2 separate regions of the Homo sapiens genome follow, and region 1 is linked to region 2. The links are contacts of gene promoters, found by promoter capture Hi-C in blood cells and fetal thymus (Javierre and others, 2016). All regions are on one chromosome and are shown on one strand. The core of a region is centred on a gene start or on the middle of the fragment in contact, and the rest is flanking DNA. Distances in the headings are between cores, read along the strand shown. Region 1 overlaps DDX60 (DExD/H-box helicase 60). Region 2 holds the start of PALLD (palladin, cytoskeletal associated protein).

Region 1 (5,891 bases), core at 2,894-5,393, 200 kb after region 2:
TCTTTTTCAATATTGTGAAATAATGTGTAGATCATTGGGATTATCTAGTCTTTGAAGATTTGATAGAAATCTCCTGTGAAGCCATATAGTCCTGGTGCTTTTTTGTGAGGTAGTTTCTTAATTTTCTGTATTTCTTCCATGGCAATTGACTTCTTTGGGCTTGTTAACTCTAATGGGGTCAAATTTAGTAATTTATTCTTCTGTGAAAATTATCTATTTCACTTAAGTTTTCAAGTCTATTTGCATAGAACTTTGTGAAGTAGGCTTTTGTGATTTAATTTATCTTGTTTCATTAATTACTTTCCCTTTTAGTTTTTATTTTGTGTATTTGTGAATTCTCTTGGTTTTTTTTTATGATCAGGTTAGCTAGTGGTTTGTCTGTTTTTAAGTTATTTAAAACCAAGAATTTTGATTTATTAATGAGATCTGTTGATTTTTTAATTTATTTTGTGCTTTCTTTCATCTTACTTTTTTGGTTTTTATGTTGTTGTTTCTTTTAGATTTTTGGGGGGGCTGGGAACTTACTCATTTTTAAAATTCGTTTATTTTTATTGTTAAACATATTTAGTGAAATAAACTTTCCTCTGAATCACTGCTTTAAATATAGCCCATAGATTATGCTGTAAATTTTTTGTCATTAAAAAAATAAATTCTGTAATTTTAGTTTGTATTTCCTTTCACCCAAGTTTGACCGAATAGAAATGTTTTTAAGTTCCAGATTAAAGCACGTTTGTGATTTTTTTTTTTTTTTTTTTTTTTTTTTGAGACAGTCTCGCTCTGTCGCCAGGCCAGAGTGCAGTGGCACAATCTCGGTTCACTGCATCCTCCACCTCCTGGGTTCAAGCAATTCTCCTGCCTCAGCCTTCCGAGTAGCTGGGACTACAGGCTCATGCCACCAAGCCCAGCTAATTTTTGTATTTTTAGTAGAGACGGGATTTCACCAAGTTGGCCAGGATGGTTTCAATCTCTTGACCTCATGATCTGCCCTCCTTGGCCTCCCAACGTGCTGGGATTACAGGCATGAGCCACCGTGCCCGGCTACGTTCATGATTTTTAAAATTTCTTTTTTTTTTCCACTACCTTTATTGTATTATGAAGATGTTAACATATAGTTAATTTTTATGGATGTGCTGGGGACATTTAAGACAAATGAAGATTCCCTATCACCACAATGTAGTTTGATTCATAAGGTCTACTCTGTTGATTATGGTGGTTTGTCTTTTATCCCTTAACTTATTTTTTTGTCCAGCTGTCTCTCTTGTGTTTTAAAATTTGTTACTATAGGTGAGTTTCTCTATAGAGTTTCTTTTATCTTTTGTCATTTTTGTTTCACAAAGTTGGTTGCCATGCATATGTTGGATAATTTTTCATAAGGATTATCTTTTCATTATAGATTGTGGCTTTTAGAATAAAAGACTGCTTTTCTTTTTCACATGTAATGCTTTTGAGTTTGAATTCTACTTAGCCCAATATAAAGATACTAACTTCTGCTCTCTTTTAGTTTCCATTTACCTGATAGAATTATGTCCATTCCTTTATTTTTAGTATTTCTGAATCACTTTGTTTTAGTTGTGTGTCTTATATATGGAATGTGGTGCAAGTTGAAATTATTTTTTCTTTTATAGGTAAGTCTCACATTTACTGTTATGACTGATACGTTTGGTCTTGATTCTATAATATATTATAGGCATTTGTATTCTGGTGTGTTTGTTAAGTTTCTTTACGATATGTGTATTCTTTGTTATTTTATTTAAACAATTTTAAACTTTGGGCTGTTTTACATGTTTCGTTATGGTAATTACGTTTGTAATTACCATGCTGTACCATTTTTATAAAAAGAATAATCTCAATTCTCTGTTTCCTTATTTTACCTTTCACTATTTGGTTTCTGAAGTTTTAATTTTTCTCAGTATCCATTAGCACTCATTTATTGTGTATAGTGGGTTTTCTAGGATTATTATTTTAAAAATATTAATTTTATTATTAAATTATCATTATTACTATTATTTTATTATTTATTATTTTTCATTGAGACAGAGTCTTGTTCTATTGCCCAAGCTAGAGTGCAGTGACACGATCACAGCAACCTCCTTGCCTCCCTGATTCAAGCAATTCTTCCCCCTCAGCCTCCCAAGTAGCTGGAACTACAGGCCTGTGCCACCACACCTGGCTAATTTTTATTAGAAATGAGCTTTTGTCATGTTTTCTAGGCTGGTCTCGAACTCCTGGCCCCAGCCTCCCAAAGTGCTGGGATTATAGGCATGAGCCACCGCACCTGGCCCAGTTTTGTTTTTGATAAGATGTGCAATGATACAAATATTTTTCTGTCTTTCATTTCCACTATTATTTTTCTGACCTTTTTTGGTTTTTATTTTATGTCATTTGGTTGTTTTCCTACCTGTCTTCATTAAATTTTATTGAGATTATTCTCCTTTGGGCATCTTGTAACTTATTCTTTATTTCTGCATAGCTTTGCATTTTTCTATGATTATTTTGCGGAATTAATTATTTATTGTCTTTCTTTCTTTCTTTCTTTCTCTTTCTTTCTTTCTTTCTTTCTTTCTTTCTTTCTTTCTTTCTTTCTTTCTTTCTTTCTTTCTTTCTTTCTTTCTTTCTTTCTTTCGTCTCTCTCTCTCTTTCTTTCTTTCTTTTTCTTTCTTTCTTTCCAGCCCTGTTTTTGGTTTATCAGTTGCTGAATAAAGATCATTTTTTGGCTGGGCGTGGTGGCTTATGCCTGTAATCCCAGCACTTTGGGAGGCCAAGGTAGGTGAATCACAAGGTCAAGAGATTGAGACCATTCTCACCATCATGGTGAAACCCCGTCTCTACTAAAAATACAAGAATTAGCCGGGCATGGTGGTGCATGCCTGTAGTCCCAGCTACTCGGGAGGCTGAGGCAGGAGAATCGCGTGAACCTGGAGATGGCAGTTGCAGTGAGCTGAGATTGCCGAACCCAGGAGGTGGAGGTTCCTGTGGGCCCAGATCATGCCACTGTACTGCAGCCTGGTGACAGAGTGAGACTCCGCCTCAAAAAAAAAAAAAAAAAGATCACTTTTTGTATGTTCGAATGCTTGTTTGAGTATATCCATATTTAGAATGTAGACTTAGAGATTTCTTCTGCTTTATAATTGCTGATATTATTACTACTTTTGGAGATAATGATGAGATTTTTCACACAATTTGTGTGAATTTTTTTTCCTGCTATTATTTTTTGTAATAGCTCTCTATGTACTTTCTTTTCATTTTAATGATACCGAGGTTTGTTACAAGATACTTTAATTCGATTTAATCCAATCCAATTAATTTAATATAATTTAATTTAATGTTATCTTTTTCTGCCAGCTTGTCAGAATCCAGGCATGTTAGTGGGGTTTTTGTTAGTTTGTTTATTTATTTGTTTGGTAGTGGGTGAGTGGTTTTGGGTCTTCAAATTACCTGCTTTTCTTCTGACTTGCAGAGCCCTCAAATTCTTCTTTGTCTTCTTTTACTCTTTCGCCACTTAATTGCCAAAGGATACTTCTTCCTTTTTTAAAGCTTCCTTTTCTTTCCCAAACCTGTTTTCAGAAAATTGTCCCCTTAGGTAGTTCCTTTTAAATAGTTTCTATTCTTTTTAAAAATTTTAAATTAAAAAAATATTTTTGATTGACACATCATAACTATATATTTATGAAGTACAACGTTTTGTTTTGATATATGTATACAACGTGACATGATTACATGGAGCTAATTAACATATCCATCACCTTGCTTACCTATCATTTTTTATTGTGAGACATTTGAAATTTATGCACTTATTTTGAAATATATGACATTATTATTGGTTGTAGTCATCCTGCTGTATAATAGATCTCAAAACCCATTCCTCTTTTTTATCTGAAAGTTTGTACCCTTGGGTCAGCAAGTCTCCGTTTCTCCCCTCACCCTCTGAAGAGAAGAGTTTCTCTTCTCTATTTCTATGAGTTCAACTTCGTTAGATTCTACATATAAGTGAGATCATTTGGTATTTGTCTCTTTGTCTTGGCTTATTTCACCTAGCATAATATCCTCCAGATTCATTCATGTTGTTGAAAATGACAGGATTTCCCCCCGTTTTAAATGCTCAATAGTATTCCATTGTGTATATATACCTCATTTTCACTGTCCGTTCATCTGTTGATAAACACTTAGGTTGATCCACGTCTTGATTGTTGTGAACAATGTGTCAATGAACATGGGAGTGCAGATATACCTTCGAAATACTGTTAAAAGAAAAACTTCAGCTGAATTAAATTTAAAGGAGTTTAATTGAGCAATGAACGATTCACATATCAGGCAGCCTCCAGAATCACAGCAGATTCAGAGAGACTCCAGGGGTGCCTCATGGTCTGAACAAACTTATAGACAAAAAATGTAAAGTGACATACAGGAATCGGAAGTGAGGTACAGAATAGCTGGATTGGGTACAACTCTGCATTTGCCTTATTTGAACACAGTTTGAACGCTCAGCAGTGTATGAGTGATTGAAGTAAGGGATTGGCCAAGACAGCGACTGTTACAAGAACATACTCCTAAACTAGGTTTTCAATCTTGTCTACCTATTAAGTTACATTGCAATTCATCCAGAAGGATTCAAATATAGAAGTACGAAGTCCTTCTCCAGCCATATTTAGTTTGCTTTAACCATACTAATTTCGGTTCCTTTGGATACATACCCAGACATGGGATTACTGGGTCCTATGATAGTTCTAATTGTAGTTTTTTGAGGAAGCTTCATATCGTTTTACATAATGCCTGTACTGATTTACATTCCTACCAACAATGTATTAGAGTTCTCTTTTCTCTGCTTCCTCTCTGACACTTGTTATCTTTCATCTTTTTGATAAAAGCCCTTCTGACAGATGTGAGGTGATATCTCATTGTAGTTTTAATTTGCATTTGCCTAATTATTGGTATAATTATTAACGCTGAGCATATCTTTCATGTACCTATTGGCCGTTGGGTTTTTTGTTTGTTTGTGTGTTTTTAGTAATGACTGTCCAGGTCGTTTGTCTATTTTTAAATGGGATTATTTGTTTTCTTACTATTGAGTTTGAGTTGTTTCTATACTTTAGATCTTAACTCCTTATTAAATGTATAGTTTGGCTGGGCGCGGTGGCTCATACCTGTAATCCCAGCACTTTGGGAGGCCTAGGTGGGTGGATCATTTGAGGTGATTAGTTTGAGACCAGCCTGGCCAACATGGTGAAATCCCATCTCTACTAAAAATACAAAAATTAGCCTGGCAGTAGTGGCACATGCCTGTAATCCTAGCTACTTGGGAGGCTGAGGCAAGAGAATCGCTTGAGCCTGGGAGGCAGAGATTGCAATGAGCTGAGATTGGGCCACTGCACTCCAGTCTGGGTGATAGAGTGAGACCCTGTCTCTAAATAAATAAATAAATAAATAAATAAATAAATAAATGTATCGTTTGCAAAATCTGTGGACTGCCTCTTTCATTTGCTGTGCAGAAGATGTTTACTTTGATGCCATCCCATTTGGCTATTTTTGCTTTTGTTGCCTGTGCTTTTGTGGCCGTATCCAAAATATCATTGCCCAGACCAATGTTGTGGAGCTTTCCTCCTATGTTTTCTTCTAGTAGTTTTACACTTTCAAGTCTTGTATGTAAGTCTTTAATCCATTTTGAGTTGCTTTTTGCATATGGTGTGAGGATCTAATTTCATTTCATTGTTTCTCTTGTTATACAGTGAGCTCTTTTATTCTATGTACACAGGTTTCCTTTCGTCTCAGAAAAATTTTATTATTTCATTTTTTTAACTTTAAGTTCAGGGGTATATGTGTAGGTTTTTTATGGAGGTAAACTTGTGTCACGGGGGTTTGTTGTACAGATTATTTTGTCACACATGTATTAAGCC
Region 2 (5,842 bases), core at 50-2,549:
TAGCAATAACAGAGAAACCCAGAGGAAGAGCTGACACAGAACCCCTGGGATACAGACCCTAATCCATACCAGATTCTAGGATGCCAGAGGACTAATTTATATTCTAGGAATGTGTAATCATGTATTTACAGGGCAGTTAGTGGCCAGATAAACCTCATCGGCCTTTTCTGCTGTTAGCAATAACTTGTCAAAGAGACTTTGATTTTAAAAATCTGAAAAAAAAATCTGAATAATTGAGGTGAGTATTCAAGTTCTTTCTGTGAGAAAAAACATTGGAAGGCACATTTATCATGAAATGAGGATTTAATTTCTGCATATATGTGATTGAATAGATTTGTAATAGTTTTATATTGCCAAGAAATGGCTTTATATGTCACCACATTATTCATACTAGAAGGCAATTAGTATTTTTAGCAAATGTTAATAAGTAATATGAGCCTGAAATCATTTTATGTCAACCTCCTATATTGGATTCAAGACAATTTCATGTGCAACTTAAAACAACATGATAAAAATTATTCTGTGATGTTTAAACTTGACTGGACTCGAGATTGCACTGTGGTTTCCCTTAGTAAGCGTTATCTTATTAAAAATATGTATGTAAATTTTATGCATGAATATAATTTAAAATACCTGCTGTTACTATCCCAACTCATTTAATTATGTCCAGTGAGTTACTTTTAGAATCTTTTGAAAGTGTAATTAACAATTTATAATGTTACTGAAATCTAAGGTCTATCACTTTAAGCCATCATCACTTATCTAGCTTAAATATGGGTGAGGGTCTAGAAAGCTGCGTTTTCCTTTTCTGTGAAACATAACACATACACGATCTTGACAAAAGCTGGCTCCATAAATACATTTAATCCTTTTGGAATTGATAGCACCATCTTAGCATGCTTAAGCTTATAACAGAAAGTGTAATTCTCTGACAGCAAAGGCAGAGATGAAGTGGGCAGGCAAATCTTACGTATTATCTGTTTTTGGCAAAACCGTAACATTCTCATTACGTTTCCTCTCCAAGCAAAAGAATAATTAAGGTATCTTGTAAATAGTATCATATCTTCAGAAAAACTTTTGTATTTTTAGTTTTTTTTTTTTTAAGTCCTTAAAATGTTGCCCTACTAGTTAGTATATTAAGATACACCTTACAGACCTTTTCAATGCTTGGTCAGTTTGAAGACTCCAGAGAGGTGATGAATTTCAGATGAGCATTTCTTCTTTTCTGGGAGAATGGAGGTTGTGGCCTTGCCTATTCATTAGAGACTGCCTGGTCCGTGGTCACTTTGAGGCAACTGTGGCCTCAGACTCTCATCTGTCCTCTTACTCCACTCAGCTATATTTGGTAACTGAGCTCATGTTTCAGCAGACTGCCACGATCAGGAATTCCAGCAGCGGGCTGGGAAGCACCCCCAGGACCGAGGGCTGGGTTCTTAGAAATAAAGCCACTTAACATAGAAGGAACTATATTTATGGATCTGATAAACGTAGGATTTAAACACATTCTTCTATACTTTGGACTTGTAGCTGGAAATCACCACCTGGACCTTTAACATGTTCTTAATCAATTTAAAGTACAGTATGTGACTCCAAGTAGAAAAAGTGATAATCCAAATGGAAGCTCTTCTTACTCTGATCTTCTGTTCTGTGCATTTAAATTTTGGTCATGTGCTAGATTACCCTAAAATAGTAAATTCAGTAACTGAAAATTTAGCCACCTGTCAAATTGAGTGGAAAGTCCCATTGTTCTCTTATTTCATATTGCTAATTAAAAATTGATATATGACTATGGTATGTATTAAAGGCCTTGTCTATAATAGTATTAAATAAGTATGAACACACAGGGACTGGATCTTATCCACATTGCAACATTGAGTTCTTAGCTCAATGCCTAGGACATCATGAGCATCTCTTAAATATTTGTCAAAGAAATAAATGAATGTTGAATGAATAATATTCAGGAAAAGTATCAACCCTCTTACAGTTGCAAAAAATGTTTCACAATCATTTAATATTTTGATCTTTCAAATGACAAATAGATATAGCAAGAGTTTAATATTTTGATCTTTTAAATAACAAACATAGATAGCAAGAAGAGAAAGCTTTTCTGTTTAAAGGTCAGGTAGCAGAATCAAATATAAGGGGGGCAAAAAGAGCAACACAAAAGCTCCCAGTTAACTTGGAAATGGGGTGCTGAGTCTTCCTTTGTCTGGGTAAGACCATCACATTTGATTCAGTTTAATATCTAAATATTTTTTCTTTTCTGATGTTAGAAAATTTGTGAAGGTCTGCTATTGTATTTTCTTTATAGGCCAAACTGGTCCTTTAGAAATGGTCCTTTCTGTGAGTGGATACTTCTGTGGGTCATTTCATCTATTATATTAATTAAGAAGTGATTTTAAAATTTATACTTACGGCTGGGCGTGGTGGCTTATGCCTGTAATTGCAGTACTTTGGGAGGCCGAGGTGGGTGGATCATGAGGTCAGGAGATTGAGACCATCCTGGCTAACACAGTGAAACCCCCTCTCTACTAAAAATACAAAAAATTAGCTGGGCGTGGTGGCGGGTGCCTGTAGTCCCAGCCACTTGGGAGGCTGAGGCAGGAGAATGGTGTGAACCCGGGAGGCGGAGCTTGCAGTGAGCCGAGATCCCATCACTGCACTCCAGCCTGGGTGACAGAGCGAGACTCCTTCTTAAAAAAAATAAAAATAAAAATAAAAAAATAAAATTTATACTTACAAGGAAATATAACTCTGATTGATTGTCTTAGTTTGTGTCATTATAACAAAATGCCACAGACTGGGTAATTTACAAAGAACAGAAATTGATTTCTCATAGTTCTGGAGGCTGGGAAGTCTAAGATCAAGGTGCCAGCAGGTTTGTTGTCTGGTGAAGTTCCTGTCTCTGCTTCCACAGTGATGCCTTGAGCACTGTGTCCTCACATGGCAGAAGGTGGAAGGGCAAGAGGGGGTCAAACTTCCTCCATCAAGCCCTAAGGGCATCAAATCCCATTCATGAGGAGTCCTCCTGAATCACCTTCTAAACGTTACACCTCCTGATACTGTTGCATAGGGGATTAGGAATCAACAAAAATTTTGAAGGGGACAAAAACCTTCAAACCATAGCATTGCTTAAACACATATTTATATCTGCTTTTTCCTAAAACCACAAGATAATAGTAAAAACTGAAAAGGGCAGAAATTGGGAGGGAAGACAATAGAAGATATCAGAAATGAACAAAATTGTTGGAAAGAGATAAATATAAGTATGCATGTAACTAAATTACAAAGCTTAAATGCCTGCAGGAGGAGATACAGAAAAGAAGCAAGTGATTCACCCCATGGAGTCTCAGAAAGGCTTGGGAATAGGAAGCAGTGAACCCATCTTTAGAAATAATTTTAATTGGCAACTCTGATTTTTGCCTCTGCCTTCTGGTGAACTGTGAGTCTCATGGTGAATTCCAGAGGCAATCATGTTGGACTACTGGCCAGACGAGGCCTCTCCCACATTTCTTTGGATTGCTTGGTTCCTAAATCCTGGTATAACACCAGTGAAGTGATGAAGCCATAAGAAGAAAAAAGAAAAAAAAACAGCTTGTGGTCCTGAGAGAGGCTTCAAAGATGGATATGACTTTACTCAAAAGGACACAGAAATGTGACCTTTTTGTGTGTGTATTGCAAATAGTGCAGCAAACCAAGCTTGTTTTAAAAATCTTATAAGAAGTTCTTTTCCTTAGAAAATTGGCATCAAAAAAATTTAGAAAGTTTGATCAACACTCTTAAGTTAGTATAGCAAGGTCCAGTTGATATTAAGGATGAGATTAGTGTGTGGACAGTAATATCATTTCTCATGCACTTTCATATTTTCCACCAGAGCCCATTTCTGTGTGCACGAAGGTTGGGAAAGGGAGTCTGTGGCTCCTTCATGGGGCTCCAGTTCAGCTTTCAAATGATTACTTCTTCTTATAGAAATTCCTGCTCTTTTGAAGCACTTATATTTGCATCAACCATCCTCCATCCCACTTTTTAAAATTAAGACTTTGGATCTAGTTGGGCTCTTGGTTCTCTTCTTCACTCCACACCCTGCCATTATTCTGGGTGACTCAGCACCCATTTGTCTATTCTATATGTTGGCATATTGGTTTTGGACCTGCTTTTCTCTATGAATCTTCATCTCTGTTCCTCTTACAGATCACACAAACAGACCTCCTCCACCTCCAAAATCAGATATAACTTATCTACTGCTTCATAACAAATTACTGCAAAAATTAATGTCTTAAAACAATATATATTTGTTATTTCACACAGTTTCTATGTGTCAGGAATCCATTAGTCTTAGCTGGGTAATTCCAGATCAGGGTATCATGAGATAGTACTGAAGATGTTGCCCCAGCTTCTTTCAGGTGGAAGCATGGCTGGGGCTGGAAAATCTGCTTCCAAGGCAGCTCACTCACGTGCCTGGAAAGTTAGTCCTGTTATTGGCTGGAACCCTGTTGACTTCTCTGTGTCACTGCCTGAGTTTCCTAGCTTCATGGCAGCTGGATTGTGCCACAATGTCTTTTTTTTTAAAGTGGAGTTTTGCTCTTGTTGCTGGAGTGCAGTGGCATGACCTCAGCTCACTGCAACCTCCACCTCCTGGGTTCAAGTGATTCTCCTGCCTCAGCCTCCCAAGTAGCTGGGATTACAGGTGCCCACCACCACGCCCAGATATTTTTTTGTATTTTTAGTAGAGATGGGGTTTCACCATGTTGGCCAGGCTGGTCACAAACTCCTGACCTCAGGTGATCCACCCACCTCAGCCTCCCATAGTTTTGGGATTACAGGTGTGAGCCACCGCGCCCGGCCCCATTATATCTTTTATGATCCAGCCTTGGAGGTCATATTTCGTCTTTCCCGCAGTATCCTTTAGTTATACAAATTGGCAGTATCCACTGTGGGAGGAGACTGCATAGAGGCGTAAAAACCAGTTGGCAAGACAATGCATTGGTGGTCATCTTGGCAGTTGGCTACCACACCTCTATTCCCTTTAACCCATCAGTCCTATAGCCACATTGGGGCATGCTCTGTTTTCACAACTGCACGTTCAAACATGTTATTTGACTGTAAACTTTCTTCCTCTAGCTCTCTCATACACTGATTTTTCTTCTTCACCAGAATTTCCAGGCTGTAGATCACTCTGTTTTGAGATTATCTATCAGTCTGCCTCCCAGGTTCAGGTCAATCGAGGATACTGGTTTACAAACTTTGTTTTAGGAGATACAAACTCTTGGGCAGCCAATAGAAAAAGTAAAGGTATTCAAAGTTTCCTTGATGAAAGGGGTGTGCAAAGGAATGCAGCAGACTTGCTCATTCATCCCCCTTGGACGTTTTCTTTTTCTTACGATCCAGGAAGTTTGAAAATCCTAAGTTTCAAGAAACAAGTCTACTTACTCCCTTTTCACTTTTATTCCTCTCTTCATTCCCAGCGTCAACCACCAGGAAACAAGGATCACGGAGCATGTGAGAAAATGGTAATTGAGAAGGCTGATCAAGGAACACACTAAAATTGGAGGCATGAAACACTTGCAGAATTGTCCCAATGGTCCATCTGGGGATCCTGGGAACAAGTGTCTTTCAAGCCACGACCAGTCTTTCTACTTCTTCCTCATACTTTGTATCTGGCTTGTGTACATGTCACAGAATCAGGTATGGCCCCAAAGACTTGTCTGATTAAACTGGTATATCTATCTGTACGTAGCAGGGAACTCCAGATTTGTCCCTCATGAGCTCGATTTTATGAACTGTGATTAAATCTGCATAAATGTAGCCTGAGCCTGTGGGTGATCTTTTGGTCACATGTTTC

What was found. The method cuts DNA at HindIII sites, captures the fragments that hold promoters and counts their contacts. A CHiCAGO score of 5 or more calls a contact.
Region 1: a fragment that was not itself captured here is called in contact with the fragment with the promoter of PALLD in region 2 in 1 of 17 cell types (activated CD4 T cells); the score reaches 5.1 in activated CD4 T cells.

Annotation. Positions count from the first base shown.
Region 1 is chr4:168,294,030-168,299,920 of GRCh38, reverse strand. The region is part of intron 6 of DDX60 (DExD/H-box helicase 60); the gene reads left to right. Among named protein-coding and RNA genes, the nearest start is that of DDX60, 22 kb to the left of the region's middle. The HindIII fragment of the contact is 1,213 bases long and covers 3,537-4,749 here.
Region 2 is chr4:168,492,509-168,498,350 of GRCh38, reverse strand. PALLD (palladin, cytoskeletal associated protein) reads right to left here and starts at 1,299. Exons shown (of 22, transcript NM_001166108.2): 1 at 1,157-1,299. LOC107986198 (a long non-coding RNA gene) reads left to right here. Exons shown (of 4, transcript XR_001741448.3): 2 at 5,466-5,685. The HindIII fragment of the contact is 1,197 bases long and covers 908-2,104 here.